3 separate regions of the Homo sapiens genome follow, and all the other regions are linked to region 3. The links are contacts of gene promoters, found by promoter capture Hi-C in blood cells and fetal thymus (Javierre and others, 2016). All regions are on one chromosome and are shown on one strand. Each heading gives the region's core, a stretch centred on a gene start or on the middle of the fragment in contact. The rest is flanking DNA. Distances are from core to core; before and after follow the strand shown. Region 1 has its middle 21 kb from the start of CTSB. Region 2 holds the start of DEFB134 (defensin beta 134). Region 3 holds the start of FAM167A-AS1 (FAM167A antisense RNA 1).

The links. The method cuts DNA at HindIII sites, captures the fragments that hold promoters and counts their contacts. A CHiCAGO score of 5 or more calls a contact.
Region 1: a fragment that was not itself captured here is called in contact with the fragment with the promoter of FAM167A-AS1 in region 3 in 2 of 17 cell types (naive B cells and total B cells); the score reaches 7.3 in naive B cells.
Region 2: a contact is called between the fragment with the promoter of DEFB134 here and the fragment with the promoter of FAM167A-AS1 in region 3, in 4 of 17 cell types (total B cells, naive B cells, M2 macrophages and 1 more). The highest score is 8.3, in total B cells.

The regions. Positions count from the first base shown.
Region 1 is chr8:11,887,203-11,891,529 of GRCh38, reverse strand. No RefSeq gene overlaps it. Among named protein-coding and RNA genes, the nearest start is that of CTSB, 21 kb to the right of the region's middle. RefSeq lists a silencer at 222-405. The HindIII fragment of the contact is 3,746 bases long and covers 580-4,325 here.
Region 2 is chr8:11,998,784-12,003,376 of GRCh38, reverse strand. It overlaps DEFB134 (defensin beta 134), which reads left to right and starts at 2,625. Exons shown (of 3, transcript NM_001302695.2): 1 at 2,625-2,669. It overlaps LOC105379245 (a long non-coding RNA gene), which reads right to left and starts at 1,244. Exons shown (of 3, transcript XR_001745644.2): 1 at 1,170-1,244. It also overlaps the pseudogene OR7E160P and the pseudogene LOC100421446. The HindIII fragment of the contact is 7,293 bases long and covers 96-4,593 here.
Region 3 is chr8:11,365,985-11,370,141 of GRCh38, reverse strand. It overlaps FAM167A-AS1 (FAM167A antisense RNA 1), which reads right to left and starts at 1,740. Exons shown (of 7, transcript NR_026814.1): 1 at 1,690-1,740. It also overlaps the pseudogene TDH. The HindIII fragment of the contact is 6,691 bases long and covers 1-4,157 here.

The sequences.
Region 1 (4,327 bases), core at 1,203-3,702, 520 kb before region 3:
AGGCTGAGGTATGAGGATCACTTGAGCCCAGCAGTTTGAGACCAGCCTCAGCAACATAGTGAGATACCATCTCTACCAAAAAATAAAAGTTGTTAAATTAGCTGGTCATGGTGATGTGTGCCTGCCATCCTAGCTACTCAGAAGGCTAAGGCAGGAGGATCACTTGAGCCCAGGAGTTCAAGGATGCAGTGAGCTATGATCATGCCACTGCATTCCAGCCTGGGTGACAAAGCAAGATTCTGGCTCACACACACACACACACACACACACACACACACACACACACACGTTTTCTCACAGTTTCTGTAGGTCAGGAATCTGGACACAGCTCAGCTGGTTCCTCCATTTTATGGTCTCTCACAAGACCACACTCAAGGTGTCAGGCAAGGTTGAGTCTTATCGAAAGGCCCAACTGGGGAGAATCTGCTTCCAAGCTCACTTTTTGGTCGTTGACATGACTCAATTGCTTTTAGGCAGTTGAACAAAGGGCCTTGATTCCTAGGTGTTTTTTCCCAGAAGGCACCCTGTGTTTCTTGCCTTGTGGGCCTCCCCAATCAAGCAACTTGCTTTATGAAAGCTTATAAAGGAGAGAGTCTGCCACCAAGACACAAGTCGTCATCTTATATTTACAGAGGTGACATCCTATCATCTTTGCTCTTCTCTGTTTGTTAAAACCAAATCGAAGGTCCTGCCTGCACACAATTGGGGACATTACACAAGGGTGAGAACACCAGGAGTCAGGGACCACAGGGAGCCATCTCAGAGTTCACTCAACACAAAGATATTAATCTTCATTAAGCTCTTTCTGCCCCAGAAAGCAGCCCAGCTTTTGTGGATGTTGTGAGGCCTGTCTCCCAGAAGGGCATTTATTAACCAAACAGTATACAAGATGGTATTAGTCCATTTTTATGCTGCTGATAAAGACATATCAGAGACTGGGCAATTTACAAAAGAAAGAGGTTTATTGGACTTAAAGTTCCACATGGCTGGAGAGGCCTCACAATCATGGTGGAATGTGAAAGTCACATCTCACATGGGGGCAAACAAGCGAAGAGAGAATTTGTGCAGGGAAACTCCCATTTCTAAAGCCACCAGACTTCATGAGACTCATTCACCATCTCAAGAACAGTGCAGGACAGACCTGCCCCCATTATTCAATCACTGCCCACCAGGTTCCTCCCACGACACATGGGAATTCTTGCAGTTACAATTCAAGATGAGATTTGGGTGGAGACACAGCCAAACCATGTGCAGTGGCACAATCGGCCCACTGCAACCTCTGCCATCCAGGTTCAAGCAATTCTCATGCCTCAGCCTCCTGAGTAGCTGGGATTACAGGCATGTGCCAGCACACCTGGCTGATTTTTGTATTTTTAGTAGAGACAAGGTTTCACCATGTTGGCCAGGCTGGTCTTGAACTCCTGACCTCAAGTGATCTGCCCACCTCAGCCTCCCAACATGCTGATGCCTGGCCCGATTTCTTCTTTTTCAATATAATGTGGAATTATCTGATATCTGGATCCAATTTAGTTGTTTATGGAACTGAAACTTCCATTTATTTTGTGGATTATTTCCAAAAACTGATTGGGACTTTGTGTCCGATTTCATTCGTTTCTGTGTGTCATCAAAAGCTGTATTTGTTATGGAGATTAATAATATGTTCTAATTCCCCAGAACTTAGCCATGTCTAACCCTGATATGGACAAGGTTCCATCACCTTTTATAAGACCTTTACAGTAAGTCTTCAATAAATATTTGTTGAATGAATGAGTAAATGACTGAATGGATGGGTGAATGGACACTTTCGCTGGCTTGGGTTTGGGCAGACAGTAGGAAGTGGGGGCCACTGTTTCACCAAAGGAATCACGCTGGAGAAAATCCCTGCATAGCATTGAGTTGTGCAACTATAAATCTATTCCCATAAATTCCAATCAATCCTGTAAACTTCAGAGCAAAAATGCCAGGCTGTGTTAGTTTGCTCAGGCTTCCGTAACAAAATACCACAGGCTGGGCAACTTAACAATAGGCGTTCGTTTTCTCACAGTTTTGGAGGTTAGAAGTCTGAGATCAAGGTGTTGGCATGGCTGGTTTCTCCTCAGGCTATGCCTTCTCCGTGTCCCCACATGTTGTTGGGTTTTTTTTTTTTTCTGTGTATGTGCAGCCTTCATGTCTCTCCCTCCTCCTATAAGGACACCAATCAGATTGAATTAGAGCCCACCCTAACAGCCTCGTTTAACTTAACTACCTCTTTAAAGACCGTGTCTCCAAAGACTGGGTGTGGTGGCTCACAATGTAATCCCAGCACTTTGGGAGGTGGGAGCGAAAAGATTGCTGGAGCCCAGGAGTTTGAGACCAGCAGGGCAACATAGTGAGGCTCTGTCTCTACAAACTGTTTAAAAAAACAGCTGGGTGTGGTGGCGCATGCCTGTAGTCCCAGCTACTCAGGAGGCTGAGGCAGGAGGATCGCTTCAGCCAGGTAGAAGAGGCTACAGTGAGCTATGATCATGCCACTGCACTCCAGCCTGGGCAACACAGCAAGATCCTGTCTCTAAAACAAAACAAAAATCAAAACCTTATCTCCAAATATAGTCACATTCTAAGGTAGTTGGGCTTAGGACGTCACTGTGTGACTTTGAGGGAAGTCACTATTTAGACCATACCACAGACCAGGCCTCGTTTTTGCAGGCCTTCCTGTCCTTGCCTCTCACCATCAGACCCTGTCAGTCCCCAAGTCAGTTGACTGAGGAGCCTTCTATCAGCAGCCCCAGACCATTCTTATGGGGGTGTGAGGGGACAGTGCAGGTCCCTAGAGGATATGTCCATCTTCTTTACTCTGGGGATCAGCCCAGAGTCTGGGGGCCACAGTGGACCCCTCTGAACAGCTGCTCCCCAACCCACACACTCCCACTCCCTTCAATGGGGCACCTCCCTACACGCCCGGCCCTCCTGCACTGCTCCTCAATTCCCATCCCTAACCTTGTCTCCTCACACAACTCCAAACCCTGAACTGCCTCCCAATGGCCCTCAGATTTAGCAGTGGCTGTAGACAGATTCGTGCAGGCACAAACCCTGATAGTAGGAAGCTCCCGAGGTGCCACTCCGCCCGAGCCCACGAGCATAGCGCTCACCCTTCCGGCGGTCCTCCCTCCCTCGTTGCTGTTCCTCCTCTTCCCCTTCCTGATCCCTCCTTGGATGGCTGACCTTTCAGCTTAAAGTCTCTGGCTCACTCCTGGGACCTGTGGAGAACGTTTTGGTTTGGTTTGGTTTTGGCTGTTCTCGCTACGCTGGTGAACTCTCAGTCCCGTGGAACTGATGCCATCTGTGCACTGATTGATTGCAAATCCATGTCCCCAGCTTGGCTCTCTGTGAACTCCAGACTCAGCTCTGTTCAGTGTCTTGGCTCGAATGTTTAATAAGGCATCTCATTCTTGACATGCCCCAAACTGAGCTCCTGCTCTCCCCCATAAAACTTCCTCCTCTGAAGTCTTCCCCACCCACGTTTATAGCATTCCCATTGTTGCACAACCATCTCCACCATCCATCTCCAGAACTTTCTCATCCCCCAGCTGAAACGCTACACCTATTAAACACTAGCTCCCCCTTCCCCAGCTCTTGACAGCCCCCATTCTACTTCCTGGGCCTGGGCTTTTACTTTGATGGTGTGGGCGCGATTGGTGGCCTTTGAGCAGAGGAGTGTATGATTTGACTTGGGTTTTAAAGAAGCCCTCGGGCGCTGCGTTGAGACTGACATGCCAGGCGTGAGGGAGAAAGCAGGACGCAGGGGGTCATTAGGAGGAGCCCAGAGGCTCAGCCAAAAAAAAAAAAAAAAGAAGCTGGGCGCATTGGGTCATGCCTGTAATCCCAGCACTTTGGGAGGCTGAGGCTGGTGGATCACGAGATCAGGAGATCGAGACCATCCTGGCTAACACGGTGAAACCCCATTTCTACGAAAAGTACAAAAAATTAGCCGGGTGTGGTTGCGGGCGCCTGTAGTCCCAGCTACTCGGGAGGCTGAGGCAGGAGAATGACGTGAACCCGGGAGGTGGAGCTTCCGGTGAGCCAAGATCACGCCACTGCACTCCAGCCTGGGCGACAGAGCGAGACTCCGTCTCAAAAAAAAAAAAACAACTTGGAATCATCCTGCTTCCTCTTTTTCTGTCTTTTTCTCTCATAGCCCACACCCAACCCATGAGGAAATCTCTGCCTTCAGAATATTCTCACTTCTCACACCTCCCTGCAAGCCCCCTGCTCCAAGTCACCCTCTCCCCTAGCCTGGATTCCTGTTTTGTCTTTCATTTGAGCCAACATTTAAAAAGCAGGAAGCTTC
Region 2 (4,593 bases), core at 1,376-3,875, 630 kb before region 3:
TTAACATTTACTCCCTTAATTTACATCCACAGCCACATTGCTGTTTCACCCATAGTACTATATCCCAGCCCTACCACTTATTAACTGTTCAAGCTTGGGCAAATTATTTCTTTTCTGTCTATCTCAGCTTCCTTATTTATAAAATGGGATAGCAATAGGTACCTACACTGTGGTACTGTTAGGATTATGTGAGTTAGTATATGTGAAGTTCTTAAACAGCGCTTGACCCTATTATAGACATTATATAAATGTTAGCTATAGTTTCATGGAACCCAAGAATTTGATCCATCCTATTCCTTTGGGGTTTTATATAATTATTCTGTGTTGCCTAAGAGTTCATGTTTGTTAAAATGTTAGGTGGTTTTGAAAATAAGGTATATTTTTCAGGTTATCAGATATATAATTTTATATAAACACAATCTATTGATGCAACATTATTCTATTCCAGTAATCTAGGACTTGATCACTAGTAGTGAGAACTAAAAAGAAAGAAGAGATACAAGGTGAATTTTAGAATTAGGATTGGCAGGATTTATTGGCCATATGATATATTGAGAAGCCATGAATGATGATTCTGAGATTTCAAAGCTGATAAAAAGATGGATGCCAATATAACTCACTAAACTAGAGAGGCAAGAAGAGAAAGTAGGTTGGGAATGTGGGGAGATTCAATAAAGAGATGTTTTGGCATAATAGGGTTTTAGTCATGTAAGGGATATGTCAGTCTACTAGGCATATTTACAAAAGTATAATTTTCTTTTTCTATAAATTAACTGAATTCCTATTAGGAACCTTATTTTGCCTGGTCACAGAAACTGAAACTTAGTCAATTCATAGTTGATCATATCTTCTCCAAGTTATTTTTAAGTTCCAAAAGAGGTAAGCAGTGATGAGGTATCTCGGAGAGCGTTTATTATGTTAACCTACTAAAACATCTTCATTCTCATCTGATCTTCTGTCACTAATCTAGGTACAACTGCTGAGTTCTGTCTCATTCTTATTTTTAATAAAATTTGTAAAGCTCTTTGGGTGAGGCCCATTCTTTGGTACATTGGTTGGTCCTGCTACTCAAGCATCATCCTAGGTCCTTAGGTTATAAGTAAGTCCCAATAAGGGCCACAAAATAGTATTTCTCTTGAACTACTTCAGAGAGCCCAGCCTCATCTCACCTCAAATTCTTTCTAAAAAGTCTTGCATCATGTCTCAGACGAGTCCTAATATGTGGCATCCACTATTTTTCTTGTCTGTTTCTCTGCCTGCAAGTGGTAATGTCCTGTTGGTAGTGGAAGCACTGGGGTTACCTCTCATTGTTGCTGTGGAAGCTGGTACCAAGTGTTTCTGATGCCTTGGCCCTTTGCGTCCCAAGACGTCTGTGAAAGAAAAGAAAGAAAGAAAAGAAAGAGAGAGAGAGAGAGAAAGAAAGAAAGAAAGAAAGAAAGAAAGAAAGAAAGAAAGAAAGAAAGAAAGAAAGAAAGAGAAAGAAAAAGAAAGAGAGAGAGAAAGAAAGAAAGAAAAAGAAAGAGAGAGAGAAAGAAAGAAAGATTCTTTAGCTTTTTCAGTGTCACTTCCTTACCATAGGTTCTAGCTCCCCAGGCCCTGGCATCTACTAATTCTTCCTGGCTGGCCCAGACTAGATTCAAAGTAGAATTTTTGCTATATTTCAGAACCCCTTTGTCCCAGGAGACAATATAGAAGAGTGGTTAATTAATTTGGGTTCTAGAATCTCTGTAAGACTTATCAGTCCCAGATGTGTGATTTTAGAAGAATTACTCAAATCTCTGCTTCAACATCTTGAAAATGTGAATTGTGAAAATGTCTAGTTAAGAGATCATTTGTAAGATTAAGTGAGGCAATATTAAAAAAAATACATACTACAATCCTTGATGCCTAAAAGTGCTCCAAATACCAGCTGTTAGGAATATATCTGCAGTAGTTCCCCACCCAGCCACAGTTCTAGTTACTTACAGTCAACCACAGTCCAAAATATTAAATACGCTGGGTGCAGTGGCTCATGCCTGTAATCCCAGCGCTTTGGGAGACCAAGGTGGGTGGATCACCTGAGGGCAGGGGTTCGAGACCAGCCTGGCCAACATGGTGAAACCCCGTCTCTACTAAAAATACTAAAATCAGCCAGGTGTGGTGGCAGGTGCCTGTAATCTCAGCTACTCAGGAGGCTGAGGCAGGAGAATCACTTGAACCTGGGAGGCAGAGGTTGCAGTGAGCCAAGATCACGCCACTGCACTCCAGCCTGGGTGACAGAGCAAGCCTCCATCTCAAAATAAATAAATAAATAAACACAAAATTCCATAAATAAACAATTCATAAGTTTTAAATTGCATGCTGTTCTGAGTAACACAAAATCTTGCACTACGCAGCTCCACACACCCAGAATGTGAATCATCCCTTTGTCCAGTGTATCCACACTGTAAACACTACCTGCCCATTAGTTATTGAAATCATATGCTTCTGAGATCCAGCCACTAACATCACCATGGCTCAGTGACCCAGCATCACCCGAAGGAGATGATCCCCCTTCTGAGCTATGGTCAGAAGATTAGCAATAGCCTAATGCTATGTCACAATGCCTATGTCGTTTTCCTCACTTCCTCTCATCACATAGGCATTATATCATCTTACATCAGCACAAGAAGAAGAGTGAGCATAGCACAGTAAGATATTTTGGGGGAGACAGAGTTCACATTCACATAACTTTTATAGTATTGTTATGATAGCATATTGTTATAATTGTTTTATTATTAGTTATTGTTATTAAAATCTTACTGTGCCAAATTTATAAATTTAACTTTATCATAGGTCTGCATGTATAGAAAAAAAGCACTGTATATATAGAGTTCAGTATTATCGACTGTTTCAAGCATCTACTGGGGGTCTTGGAACATAGCCCCATGAATAAGGAATAACTACTATATATTGTAAAGTTAAAGTATAAACCTAATATCTAGAGTTCATTTATTTATTCAACAAATATACCTTTGGCACTGATGGCCTGCTAGACTTTCAGCCCAATACTGGTGTAAAATGATAAATAAGACAGTCATGGAATCTACTCGGATTTCACAGTCTAATCAGAGACACAAATAATTGATATAGTAACAATTGTGACAAGTGCTATGAAAAAAAAAGGAATGGGTGCTGTAAAATTTGTAATGGGAAAGAGGACCATCTCTTCACAGAGGATACAGAAGCTGCTTCCTTCTGCATCTCCCACTGTTGGCTAGAATACATTTCTGTTTATTAGGATTGTCATTTGGAAAGGCTGCATATTGAATCTGTATGGCTCAGGGTCAGACAGGGACATTTCAATTGCAGCTGAGAGTATGGCAGTTGCAGAACAACCACAGATCAGGAAGATGAGAAGAGTAGCATGATGACCCTAAAGAAATACCAAACCCAGGAGGCAGAAGAAAGAGCCATCTAGTCCTAGCGTGGAGCATATTGTACTTCTCCATTTTCTAATCCCAGAGCACCATGTGGCCTTAGGGGAATATATGGATGAAAAGAAAAAGCTGGTGTGCTGGTAAGCCACATACTTGTTTTCAAATGATGCGCACATCTCCCCTCTTTATCTCTAAAGTCTATGAACTAGGTCAGCTCCCAACTCGTGGCACCTACAGTGAACCAGACGCTGAGCCAGGGGAGGTCTAGATAACAAGAGACGATCTCTGACAGTTGCTGAAATTCTTCTTTACCTTTTAGAGCAAAACTCAGAGGCTGTCCTGTTCTGATATTTAAGTAAAATCACGAATTGCTGGTAGTTGGTGACCTAGTCAGTGAACGAGCTCCTTATCAATAGTGGGAGAATGATAGTAATAGTCCGTTCTGGGGAAAAGAATTTGGCACTGTAATGGTCTTGGGGTTTTTTAACTTTGGCTTTGTAAGCAACATTATTTTTGCTTGGGTTAAAGCCTCTTCCAGCTGTTTATCAACATAGATAAAAGTATATTGCTTTATTATTTCTCCTTGAGTCATATTCAACACTTTCTTTGCATGGGCAATGCCAGTATCCCACTGAGCATGTCCTCTCTGAGGTTGAGGTTTCCAGGTCTTTTTTTCTCAGAGTGATTGCTGGCTTCTTTGGGAGCCTCAGCCAGTAATTCTTTATACTGTTTATGACCTTTATACTCCCATACCTGCTTTTCATGAACCCACGCCCTCACTGGCTGGTTGCTAAGAAATTGGACATGATATGACCAGGCACCCCTTGTGTCAATTTTAGTATGAACTTCCAGCTGGGGCTCACTTGAGACCAAGGTAGGAACCTAAGGTAGAAATGATAGGTTCCTGCCTTGGGCTTTTTCTGTTTGGTAGGTTTTTTACTACTGATTCTATTTCAGATCTCATTATTGGTTTGCTCAGGCATTCAATTTCTTTCCAGTTCAACCTTGGGAGGTTGTACTTTTCCAGGCATTTATCAGTTTCTTCTAGGCTTTGTAGCATGTGTGCATGCAGATGCTCCTAATAGTCTCTGAGGGTTTTTTGCATTTCTTTGGGGTCAGTGGTAATATCCTCTTTCTCGTTTCTGATTGTGTTTTTTTGGATCTTCTTTTTTTAGTCTAGCTAGCAGTCTAAATA
Region 3 (4,157 bases), core at 491-2,990:
ACCTACACACAGGCATACTTGTGGCTTGGGATAAATGTCCACCAACAGCATCATACATAGACCCCGAAACTGCTGCATCCCAAACAACTTAGAAAGAAAAAAGATCATCTGCTCTTAACCTATTAGGGGATGCCAAAGGGGGCACCAAGATCAAATACGAAGTCGGAGTGACATGCCTGAAATGCGAATGTGAAGAGGGAAAGCCCACATGCTGGTTAATAGATTAACAAATCTGAAACACCTGCAACTAATAGTACAGGTGTCTATTTTATCCTCTCATCTACAATCCTAAACTTTATATATGTAAGTTGGCTAAAAAAAAGTTTTCTGGGATCTTCACATTGGAAGGTAAGGGGTGGCCTGTTTAGCTACCTTATAGACAAACATACTAAAGCTATAAAAACAGTGCCATGAAATAATTTTTTTTAAAGTGACTACCCTAAAAAAAAATCATTAAAAAACAAGATTCCTTTCTCACCGGTGATTTTTGGAAGCAATTCACTGATTTAGAGGCAGTTATCATCCGGTTATGTGAGATCTAGGATTTATTCACTCACGGCTCTTGTATTAGAATGTTAAGATTCTCCAGCAAAAAATGAAGTTTATATTCTTCAAACCTTTTAGAAAAATAAAACTTTCAACTGATCCTGTTGCCTCAGCCTCCCAAAAGTGCTGGGATTACAAGTATGAGTCATTGCACCCAGCCACAAAAATAAAACTTTTCAACAAATGTAAACCATACTGAGGTCCATGAATATGTGCCAAGAGGAAGGTGTTGATGGTCGAGAATTTCATCACAAATTAATCCAACTCGTTCCGAAGATAAATTTGACCACATAAAATGAAGAGGCAAGTAGGTGTTTACGCCCTGTGACCCAGTAATTGTACTTCTAGGTTTCAGCAATTAAATAGAATGACATCATTATGATACTCCATTCAACGAGTTATGCAGCTATCTTTAAATGGCAAATGTTAAAACTACATGTAAGTTCTTTGTAACGCATAGAGGACTGGAGAATATTTTAAAACAGCTACCATGTGACATGGCAAAAATTGAAAGTGAGTCTTTTCCAAAACTTTTGACAATATTGTCTTAGCACTACTTTTATAGTAAAAGAAAAGAAAAAGGTTTCACCTTCCACTCCTAGATTGTATAAGCACAGGAGAAAATAAAAGGTATACACTAGTTTTTTTGTGTGTTGTTGTTTGAGATGGTCTCGCTCTGTGGCTCAGGCTGGAGTATGGTGGCGCAAGCATAGCTCATTGCAGCCTCAAACTCCTGGCTACAAGTGATCCCTCAGCTTCAGCCACGTGAGTAGCAGCTACAGGTGTGCATCACCACATCTGGCTTAAATTATTTTTGTAGAGATGAGAGTCTTGCTATGTTGTCCAGGCTGGTCTTGAACTCCTGGCTTTAAGCAATCCTCCTGCCTCAGCCTCCTAAAGTACTGATTACAGGTGTGAGCCACTGCACTGGGTCCCACACTACACTGCTAACATGTTATTGATTGGGTTTGGAGGGGAAGACAACTTTATTATATATCTTTTAAATTGTCTGAACTCTTAATAAACATTTTTTTAAAATGACAGAATTTAAAGCATTTTCTGAACACCCTTACCATAAAATACAATCACAAATTGGTGATTTGGCCTATGTGAATTAAAAAATACTAAATATCTCCCACCTACCATAGTAAGTGTCCAAAGCACTGCAGTAGCTTTCACTAATCCAGTCTGTTCTGGACTCCAGGCCATCTATCTTGCTGGCAGACTTCGGGATCGCTGTTTGTGTAGCAACACAAGGCACATCCCAGCAACGCCACACACAAACATGTGAGCAGAAAACTAATAACCACCGGTAGCCTGTGTAAAACATCAGAACAAAGCCAATCTTTGTATTCTTTCTTTTTTATTTATAAATAAACTATTTTTGTGGTTAAACCCACTTTTCCTTCAAATAGCTTTTTGGGTTATTTCCAAATTAATCATAAAAAACCCTTTCTCCCAACAGAACGGAAAGCATTTTACAGGAAAACATTGATGGGCTCCGGGATCCCAAGATGTGCACCAGATACTGAGTGTTCAGACAGAAGGGACAACTCTAATTCTAGTCTTGGAGTACAAAGATGTCAGTGAATAAGAATCATCCAAAGAAGCTGAAGCATTCATTATTTTTTCACTCTTATTTGAGATCTCCTGGAGGTGTGTTTACAGATTGGGAAAGATTCAAGGAACCTGTTTGGAACAAACCCCTCCAAATGATCCGAATTAAAGGTCATTCTAGGAGCCTGGTAGAAATGCTGGAAGGTTAGGGTCTAGGAGACAAAGGTCACTCGAGTTGCTGCTTCTTATCTTATGAAAGGGAAGAATTGCTTGTTCCTTTAAGATAACTGAGAATAAATTAATCAAACTTAAGAACTGTTTTTTAAACTATAAACAGTAAGCAATCATTTTAAAACTCAATTATCTACCCAAATGTTCACAGCAGCATTATTCATAATAGCTTAAAAAGTGCAAAAAACCTAAATGTCCCTCAATGGATGAATGGATAGAGAAAATAAGAGGATTACTCATACAATGGAATATTACTTAGCAATAAAAAATGAAGTAGTGATACATGCTAAAACATGGATGAACCTTGAAAATGGACTGCTTAATTAAAGAAGCCACTAAAAGACAACCACATTCCACTTACATAAAATGCTCAGAACAGACAAACCCAGGGACAGAAGAAGTACATTAGTGGTTGCCGAGGGTGGGAAGGGCTTATATAATATGATTTCTTTGTGGGGTGATGAAATGGCCTAAAATTAGATTATAGTGATGGTTGCAAAACTTTTTAATACATTGAAAACCACAGAACTATAAATGAGTGAATTTTATGGTATGTAAACTATATCTCAAACTTTCAAAAAAAGAATTCATTACTAACTTTCTGATTTTAAAAAATAAAATCTTCCTGCCTCTCAAGAGCAGCCCAAAAGAAAAATAACAAAAAAATAAAATCTACAAACATAAACCTTATTAAGTGGAGGAAAAAGCTACAGTAATGTAACTGTTAAACAATTCAATTACCTAAAAGTTCTCCAGTTAATAGTCAAATAGATTTTAAATCCAGTTATGCCTTCAAAAAAATCCACGCTTTGACCTAACAGTTCAAAACTCCAAATGCATAACATTTTGTTATTAAGCATGCAACATAAATAAACGCCTTTTAATCCTTGATAGCTGTTATCAAATATATCCATGATTAATCTGTGGAACTGGAAGTTTCACTTCCTAGTGATTTTACATGCAGTACATTCCGAGGTCGCTGGAAAAAAGTTAACCTGTACGTGTCTATACAGTATTGCACCAGAAATATTTTTTTAAATGACCGGATTGAAAGCATTTTCTGAACACACTCATTCCCTTACCATAAAATACAATCAGAAATTGATTTGGCCTAACTTCAACTTAAAAAGTTAACCTGTATGTATCTATACGGTAATTGCATCAGAGGGTTTAGAGTAGCCCTTCTGAAAGCTCAACCCAGGAATATCTTAAAAAAAAAAGATGCAACAAGAAAGTGCTCTTTAGAAAACTGCATTGGTCTAAACTGGTCTGACTAGTGGGCCTCAGCTGGATTCAAATAACCAGTGGCACCTGGCACTTAATGAGTGAATCTAAAGGGATGTAGCCCAGAAACCTGTGTATTAGACAATCTCCCTAGATGCTGATGTTGCCAGGTCAGGGAATTATGTTCCTGGGAATTACATTTAGCTCACTAATAGGAGGGCAATCAAAATAAGAGCAGGGCTACCCTTCGCTGGTTACATCATCTTTGAATTCTTAATTTCCCACAGATCTAGCATCTTACAGAAAAACCAGAAATTATAATTTTTGAAGCAGTGTCAAAATATCTTGAATGTGATAGACATGGGATGAATACACCAAACATGTTTTACTTTCGCTGGGATAGTAAAGAATACTTATAAATGAGGAGTACCTCTTTGAAAGTCCTTAAAATGTAATCTTTGGTCTTTAGTCAAGAGAATAATCGAGTCTTAAGAGGAATATTTAAATTGAATTTAATTAAACACAAATGTCACATACTCCCAGCTTCCCAGAAATAGTCACTTCATCCTAATTAAGGAAATGGAAACTAATGATGACTT